Linked DNA regions of Homo sapiens: region 1 is linked to region 2. The links are contacts of gene promoters, found by promoter capture Hi-C in blood cells and fetal thymus (Javierre and others, 2016). All regions are on one chromosome and are shown on one strand. The core of a region is centred on a gene start or on the middle of the fragment in contact, and the rest is flanking DNA. Distances in the headings are between cores, read along the strand shown.

Region 1 (4,596 bases), core at 901-3,400, 240 kb after region 2:
AGCGCTCCACTCTCCGATGCTCTGCCCTGTGACCTCGGGCTGCCTTGGTCTTCACAAATGCTCAACTCAAGGAATACACTGAGCTTCCCCGGGGTCTCCTCTCCCTGCGCCATGACCTGGAAACACTCTGAGGGCTGAAACCTGGGGCCACTGAAGGGCTCACGTCCCAGGGCTCACCTCCCAGTCCTTTCTTGTCTGTTGTCTACCTCTTGAGAATAATGTGTTTGTCTTGGTTTTGTTGTTGTTGTTTTACATTTACAATTGTATATTTATTCTCTGTTGCTCTATCTTGACCCAAAGCAGAAGTATCCTAATTCTTTTTTTAATATATTAATCTTTTTATTTTGAGATTATTTTAGGTTTGCATGCAGTTGTAAGAAATAATAGAATATCATGAACCCTTTATCCAGTTCCCTCAATGGTAACTCCTTGCAAAACTACGGAACAATATCACAATCAGAATATTGGCATCGATATTTTCAAAACACAGACCACATTCATCACTGCCGGAACCCTGGGCGATAAACCCTAGGAGACACTAATTGGTTATCCATTTCTATAAAGTTTTCATTTCAAGGATGTTATGTAACTGAAATAAAACAGCATGTAACCTTTTGAATTGGCTTTTTATTTTTCATTCAGCATGATTCTCTGGAGATTAGCAGGCTGTGGTATGTATCAATAGTTCATTCCTTTTTCTTGCTAAACATATTCCATAAGCTGAACGAGCCCCAACTTATTTAACTGTTCGCCCATTGAAGGACGCCTGGATTTTCAGTGTGGGGCTATTATGAATAGCCCAAAGCAATTGTGTGAAAGCTTTTAGGTGAAAGCTGCAATGACTGGAATACTGCAGTAAAGTCTGTTTCCCCTGAGAAGTAGTGGGCAGGTCCACCTTGATATGATGGGGGTGTGGGAAGGCTCTCTTCGTCTCTTTCCCTGACCAAACCCAGCTGCTAAATTCGTCATTGCAAGCTGGTTGCTCGATTGTTTTTGACATCACCCTAGGGAATAAATTGCTTCACAGACTAATCCAATCAAATTCTGACTCCTTTGAAAGGAAAGGCCAGTGCTTGAGATTTCTTACTAACCCAGAAAGTCTCTTCCCAGCTCTCTCTTTCTCCATTTCTCTCCAGAAAACTAGCCATCTTAGAGTTAGGCTACGTCTCTAAAGAATCTATCAATCTTCTCCCAGTTGCCCTTCACCACAACCGCCACTGACTCTGAGAGCACCCTTAGGTTTGAACTTCATACTCTGTTGCAAATGAAGTCAGTTCCTTTTGGGAGAGACTAGGAGATCCTCTGTTCTACATCCTGCCATTCTCCCTGGACAAAATCTCTAAGCCACAGCTCTGGAACTGACGGCAGGGATCTTGGCTCACTGGTGTCATGCCTACTTTAGAAGCTGGACACTTGAGTGATGGGCAGCAGCTCCAGGTGTCCTCAGCTTGCCTCTCTCAGCATGAACCCCTCCCATAAGCTGGAGCAAAGGTGACCAGAGACCCGAGACCCAGGATTCTCAGCATGATGAACCCAGGGCAGCCTTTGCTGCATGAGTGAGACCTGAGGCTGAGTAGAGGAAGGGACCCTCACCTCTCGGACACACTCACTCAGAATTCAGCCTGAGACACAGGTAGCTGGGGGCAGGATGCTAGCACACTGACCCTCACAGGAAGAGAGCCTCACCAACTGGAAGTGAAACTACCTTTTGACAGCGAGAGAGGTCTAGCATGGCTGACTCCATCTTGCTTCTGGCTCATAGGCTGGTTGTCCTTGCTTATTCCTGGACTCAGGCCAAGCTAACTGATGCAGGATTTTTTCTCAGCCTCTTTGCTGGACTCACAGCAGAGGCTCCTCATCTACTTGGCCCAGCATGCTCAGCCCCTTGCGGGAGGGAGTGCATGAGCGAGCAAGTGTGGGATCTGGCCAGCCACTCTGAACGCTGACACGGGAGCAAACTCCACGTGGGGCCCACAGCCAGACCAGGTGTGTCACCTCGAGGAGAACATGGCAGTGCCCAGACAAGGGTGCCCGCAACCCCGAAGCCCCAGAGGGGGTGTTAGTGCTCTAATCAGCTCTTATAGTTCCACCATCCACATCCCAATGGAGGGCAATGTGTTAGCAGCTCGGTCGGCCCCTGGCCTCATCGCGTGGGGCAGCTGCCCTCTGCTGGCGAGGGCAAAGGGCCCGGGTGACATCCTTTCTAGGTACCTGCACTCTGTGGGTCCTGAGCTCTTGTCCAGCGTCCAAGAAGAATGAGGTCATGCTGGTGATTGAAGGATGGTGAAAGTGGAGACTTTTACTGAGCAATGAAAACAGCTCTCAGCAGAGAGGGGAACTGGAAAGGGGACAGGGAGGGCAGGTCGTCTTCCCCAAAGTCAGGAGATCTCTTCCTTGAAGTCAGGCCTTCTCTCTCTCTCTACCAACTGAGTCTGGAGTCTTTATAGGCCCAGGACGGGGGCAGGCCAGGCCATAGGTAGTATTGGAAAAGGCAGTATTTGATTGGTTAAAAAGGCATTATTCAAAATGAACCAATCCGGAGCGAGCAGGCAAACAAGAATAGAAGTTTTCACTCTGGGCTGCAGGTTTCAGGATGTTTTGGCTTGAAGGTGAGGTTTCACTGGGGACCCACCCCCATCTGCCTGGGATTTGTCTGCCTCCTGCCTCTATTATATCCATGGGAGGAATTTAGTTTATAGTTTAACTTGTAAGCAAGGATGATAACGGTCCCGCCCTAAAACAAATCCCCTCCTTTTTGGGGAGCTGAAACTGCCTTTATAGGACTAATGAAAGACCACAAGATTAGAATTACAGGAGGGCATGAGTTCTGCTAAAATATAGGCATAGTTTCTATAATCCCCCTCTGCTTAGGAGTCATTTGTCCAGAGATCACAAGATTTGTGGCTTCCCCAGTTGCTCCTATAGATAATATCACTGTGGTAGAATTAAGATTGGTCTTTTGAGGTGGTTTTCCAACTGACCCCATGCAGACTCGTGACTCACGACTTGTTTAACCGTTCACCCGTTGAAGGATGTCTGGGTTGCTTTCACTTTGGGGTTGTTATCCACCCAGAGGCAGATTCAGGGCACAAGGACCATTTTCCACACCCCTGTGATTGCCCCCGCAACCAATGAGGAGCACCCATTCCCCAGCCCCCCACCCACCACACTGTCCTGGAAAAACCCTAACCTTCAAGCCTTCAGGGAGACGGGTTTGAGTGATCATTCCAGTTCTTCCACCTGGCAGGCCTTGCGTTAATTAAACATTTCATTTACTGCAATACCATGTTCTCAGAGTGAACTGGTTTTGTCTGTGCAGCGGGCGGGAAGAGCCTGTCGGGCAATTACAGAAACTGGAGGAGAGATAGTCTTGCATTCCTGGCTGTACAGCCTGGAGTGGAGCTTCTGTCTCACTGGGCTGGGAGAGGGCACACGCATTGGCTCAGATACCACAGACTCACACAGTTCTCACTAAGCTTTAGTCGATTTTCTTGAATAAATGTTTCTCTATTTGAAATGGCTACAGGGCCATTTGCAGATGCTTTAAATGGTTGTTGGGGGTGGGGTTTCGTTTGTTTTTGTTTTTAAAGTCTTCACCAGTTTCACATGGAAGTGGATCTCTGGAGTTCCCCCTCATTGTCACGCTGCAGTGGGACTGCCCTGTGACTTTATTATTTCATAGCATTTGAACATAAGATAATCACAAGCTTTCAAAGGACTAAATGTTCGATGAAGAAAATGGCACAGAAAAAAAAAATGTCCCTTCTAAATAAGGACTCACTTGGTCCTCCACCAGCAACCAGGAGCACTGCCAAGTGTGTCTCTCTCCTTATGACGTGACCTTTTATCTTTAAAGGACACTGAATTTCACTCACATTATTATTTCTTACACAGTGTGTTTTTATTATTCAAGGTCACTAAGACTTTCTCCTGTTTTATTCCAAATGTTTTATTGTTTTATATTCAACATTTAGGTCTATGATGGGCATAGAGTTAATTTTATATAAAGTATGAGGTTGAGGTTGAGGTTTTGTTTTCGTTTTGTCTACGGCGGTTCAATTGTTCCAATGCCATTTTTTGGAAACGGTTCTCCTTTCGCGCGCTGGTATGAATGCGTTCCCCAAAATTCATGCGCTGTAACTTAACCCCTGTTATGGTGTTACTAAGAGGTGGGGTCTCTTGAGAAGTGATCAAGTCAGGGCTTTGCTCTCAGGCATAGATTAGTGCCTCATTAAAGGGCTGGGGGGGATGAGCTTGGGTCCTTTTTGCCCCTTATGTTTTCCACCAAAAGGACACAGCAAAGAGCCTCCACCAGATGCAGAATACTGGCACCTTGATCTGGGGACGTCTAGCCTCCAAAACTGTGAGAAATGTACTTCTATTGTTTGTAAAATACCCAGTCACAGGTATTTTGTGATTGCAGCAGACACTTCTCCATTTAGTTGTCTTGCCCCTTTGTCATAAATTAGCGCAGTCTTGTGTGTGCGAGTGACATCTCAACTCCGTGCTTTTCCCTTGATCTGTGTGTCTACCCCTCTGCCCATACCACACTGTCTACATTGCTGTCGCTTTATGGAATGTCTCAAAGTCAGCTAA
Region 2 (4,224 bases), core at 1,668-4,167:
CACACACCATGGGACAGAAAAGGCCAGCTCCGCACTCTCCCGGTGGCAGCAGGGCCTAGCTCCTCGGTATGGAGAACGCAGGCTAACCAGGCTTAGGCTCCTGGAAGACGGTGCTGCCAAGACTCTGATTCAGTACACTAAATGTGAGTTGAGTGCACCACACCCCAGCACTCCACTAAAAGCCAGCAGAGGCAGATGGAGAGGTGCCAAGTGGCCACCGCAAACTAGACCAGCACGCTGCCTGGGCTGGGGGGCCAGGTGACGATCGTGCAGAATCTCTAGCCAGTTGGTTTCGTGCATTCTCCCACGTTCAGCTGGGTGGACAGGCAGCACCGTCCTACCGTCCCCCACCCCCGTTCCCGCCCCTGCCACTGCCGGCACACCCTGGCTCTATCTGGGCCTCAGAGCTGGGGGGAGGAGGGGCACAGGAGAAACTCAGGCCTGCTGGGTCTCGGGGGATGTGGGGTCTGAGAGCCTAGGTGCAGGTCTTGGTGGACGGGGAGCACAGGGGCTCTTGAGGGGTCTCTGGTGGCCTTATCTGAGGCACTGCACATGGCCCTGGCCTTGGGAGCACCCAGCACCAAGTTAAGAGGGGCTCCGTGAGGCCAACGCTGCCCCAGGCTTCACATGAATTTCACGCTGGCCTCTGCCTGTCTAGGGAAGATGAGGAGGAAGTGAGGGTCAGAGGCCTTGGGTGGGGTGTTCCTGAAGGGCCAACAGTGGTAGGCAGCACTGAGCCTCTGGGCCTGAGGGCCTGGCAGGGGCCAGGAGCTGCTGGGACCTCTCAGAGGCAAGGCGCCTGTAACAAAGCCCGATCACTAATCATGTCCACCCCAGGCCTCCTGATGACCACACTGACACATGGCAGCCTGGTGGCCGGGCCAGTGGGGCTGAGTCTTCACTCACCCAACCCCAGCAGAGCCTCCTCTTGGGCATGGCCTTGGCCTTTCCAAGCCTCAGAGTGCAGCCTTCAGGGGTGGGCCCCAGTGAGAGGCCGAGAAGAAAGGGTGGGCTCTGGAGGTGGAGGGGCCTGACTTGTTTTACCCACAGGTTCAGGCTAGCCATGGCCACCCGAGGGGCTCACACATTCCCTCTGGTGACCAGCTGTGGGACTGCAGGAGTGGAGACAAAGTTTGGGGACTCCCAGTAAACAGTAGAAAAGAGGGTTCAACAGCTCCCAGGCCATTAATTTTCGAGTCTCCAGGCTTGGGGCCTGAAGGGCACACTTTGCTAAGGGTCTGAAGGGCCATGTGTGGGCTTGAGATGAGAGGCTGGCAGGGGTTGGGCCAGGACGATTCACTGTCCTTGTTCCCACAGGCCGAGCCTCTCCAGGCTGGAGCGCCAGCTGCCTGTGCATGGAGCCTGCAGATCTGGAACAATCTGCACTGTCGACACCCAGGGCCCCAGGACAGGGCTCTAAGGCCTCTCTTTTGTTCTCGAACCCTTGTGGGCCCACCAGCCCTCAGTTCCCTCAGTCCCACTCTCCCCAGGGAGCACCCCAAGCACTCCGCATGGGATTTCACAAGCACCTCCACGGTAACCTATCTCAAGTAGAACTCTGCACTAACTTCTTCCTCAAAACACAAAAACCTGGCTCACTGCCACCAGCCTGCCTCCCCACGGCCCCACGAGTGACTCACCCAGGATCCCACCCTCTCGGCACCCCCACCCCAGCTGCATCCAGTCCACAGCAAGTCCAGTCAGCGCTCCCTGCAAAGGCTCCCTGGCAACAGGAGTGTGTGCACTGCTGGGCGAGCGGGCCCCGCTGCCTCCAAGGCAACCACACCTGATCCGTTTCCAGGGGCCCACCACCCTTGGCCCTTCAGGAACACCCCACCCGGGTCCTCTGACCCTCACTTCCTCCTCATTCTCCAGGGACAGGCGAAGGGCCAGCGTGGAATTCACGTGAGGCTCAGGGCAGTGTTGGCCTCACTCAGACCTTTTCTTCCTTGGTGCTGGGTGTTCCCCAAGGTCAGGGCCACGCGCAGCACCGGTCCCAGGTGTCTGCTGAAGGAAGCCTCCTCCACTGGGGGTCCCACCTGCCACCCTCCCCTCTCTCCCCAGCTATGTGCAGGGGCCTCCAAAGCCACACCCTGGCCCCTTGACCGTCCCTCTCCAGAAACACTGATTACTGTTCTCCAAAACCCACCCGGGAGCCCACATCTACTGATTACGCCTGAGTCATTCGTTCACCAAGAAATATGCAGGGCTTCCTGCTTCAATTTGGGGAGGGCGAAGTGGTGCAGGACAGCGCCCCGATGGCCCCCTGGGAATCCAGAGAACATGCAGAGTGGGCGTGGGGGGTCTGGGCTGAGCAGAACCGGGCCTCCCGCCCTGCCTGCCCCAAAGCCCTGAGGGCTGCGGTCAGCTGCCCTTTCCCACTCAAACCCAATCTGGATTCCCAGCTCCTCTGCCTCAGGCCGCGCCCGCGCTGCGGTGGGGGCCGCCCGGGCCTCCCCGCCTGGACCCAACAGCCGACGTGGCCCCCGCCCCGTGACGATCAGAAACGTCTCCAAACAGCTCCCTCGGCCCTGGCTGCGGGACCAGCCCCGGGCCTGACCCCGGGCCACCCTCCCACTCCCCACGCGGGGGCACCGTGGCCTCCATGGGTTTGGCTCGGACCCTCTGTCCCCAGCCCGGCCACGCCCGCCCCCTGGGGTTGCCCTAAACCTGGCGGGGGGCTCCTCCGCCACCCGCCTCGCGTGTCTCAAGGCATGACAGGGGGTCCCGGAGAACCCTGCCTCGCCCGGGCCAGGAGGCGGCCCAGGGACGCCCACCCCGCTCCCCGGAGTCCGCGCGCCCTGTGGGGTCCGTCTGCTTGTGACACTAAGGGGCGCCCCGCGACGGGGGGGTGACGACCCCTACTCACACCACATTCCGCGCCATGGCGGCCACGCGCGCTTCCGGGGTCCGCGAGGCGGAAGGAGCAGCGCGCCCGCCCCGCACGGCCGCCGCCTGGCACAGCGCCCCCTCGCTTCCGGAGGCCGCGCCGCCCCCCCCGCACGCGCCAGCGCCCGTGCCGCGCGCCCGTGCCGTCCCCAGCCCTGCGCCCGCCCCGCCCCGCGCCGCCTTCTTCTCCCTCCCTGCCCCCCTCCTGTCCCGCACCCCACGTTCCTCCCCGCCCCGACCCCCACTCCCCGCGCCGCAGACTCCACAGGACGCGGGGCCGCAGCAGTCCCGCCCCGCACTCCCGGCCCCACAGCCTGAAGCCCGGGCCCGCGCCCCTGCTGCTCGCGCCCCGCCCACGCCCGCACCCCTCCCAGCCCCAGAGACCTCCCGCCGCCGTCGCACTCTTTCGGGCCTGTCTGCCCTGCCTCCCGGGACCCCGGCCTGCACGCCCCCCACACCCGTGCCCCTGCCCTTTGGCAGCTCCAGGCCACAGCCTGGCCCCGCACCGCTGCGCTTGCAGCTGCTGGGAGCTGGAAGTGGAGAACCGGGGCTGTAGTGCTGGGGAGGGCGGGTCCCCGGGCCTGGGGTCTGAAGCCCCTCTCTCCATCTGGCTGTTTTTACCCGGGAGCCCGGAACCCCAGGGCCCCTCACCTCGCCCTTCTGGCCAGCCCGGTTGGCAGCCCCCACGCTGGCCACACCAGCCACGCTGTCCATCCTCGGTGCTCCCACCACGCCTCCTCCAAGAGGGCCACTGGCCTCTTCAGGCCTTGCCGTTTGCTCACCCCCTCTCCACCCTTCTGGCCAGCCCCCTCCAGCCTCTGGCAAGGCCCTCTCTACAGGGACCCCCGTCCAAGGCCCAGTCCTCACTCCTTTCCTTGGGTAGTGCTGGCCAGGAGGGCTGCTGGGACCCTTCGGGAGTAGAGGGCAGCAGCCTCCCTCCCCTGTCCCCAGGCCTCTCCCTCCTCCCCTGGTTTCCTCTGCCTGGTGGCTGGATTCAGGCCACTTCTCCATCTATCTCTTTAACTGCCCGTGCCCCCCACCCCCAAGCCTGGCTTGTTCCCGCACCCAACAGCACCCTAAGTGTTCTTCAGAGCAAGAGGCAGGGGTGTCATGCTTCAGAGCAAGAAGCGGGGCCATGGGTCCTGGTTGTTGCTGGGGGCAGGGGGCCCAGGCCTGCAGGTGGGAACAGGGCTGCGGGAGGGCACTGGGGTTGATGGAAATTCAGGAGGAGGAGAGGGCACTGTGCCCCTCCGAGGGCCTGGGCCGGGTAGGGCTGGAGTTCCTCCTGATGGGTGGGTTTGAGTGGAAATGACTCCAGGGGGTCTATCTAGCATG

Evidence for each region. The method cuts DNA at HindIII sites, captures the fragments that hold promoters and counts their contacts. A CHiCAGO score of 5 or more calls a contact.
Region 1: a fragment that was not itself captured here is called in contact with the fragment with the promoter of MRPL23 in region 2 in 1 of 17 cell types (monocytes); the score reaches 5.9 in monocytes.

What each region holds. Positions count from the first base shown.
Region 1 is chr11:1,704,353-1,708,948 of GRCh38, reverse strand. No RefSeq gene overlaps it. Among named protein-coding and RNA genes, the nearest start is that of KRTAP5-6, 9.5 kb to the right of the region's middle. The HindIII fragment of the contact is 2,657 bases long and covers 822-3,478 here.
Region 2 is chr11:1,946,025-1,950,248 of GRCh38, reverse strand. It overlaps MRPL23 (mitochondrial ribosomal protein L23), which reads right to left and starts at 2,917. Exons shown (of 5, transcript NM_021134.4): 1 at 2,870-2,917. The coding sequence starts at 2,886. SNORD131 (small nucleolar RNA, C/D box 131) reads right to left here and starts at 918; the gene lies at 773-918. RefSeq lists an enhancer at 251-988. The HindIII fragment of the contact is 42,193 bases long and covers 1-4,224 here.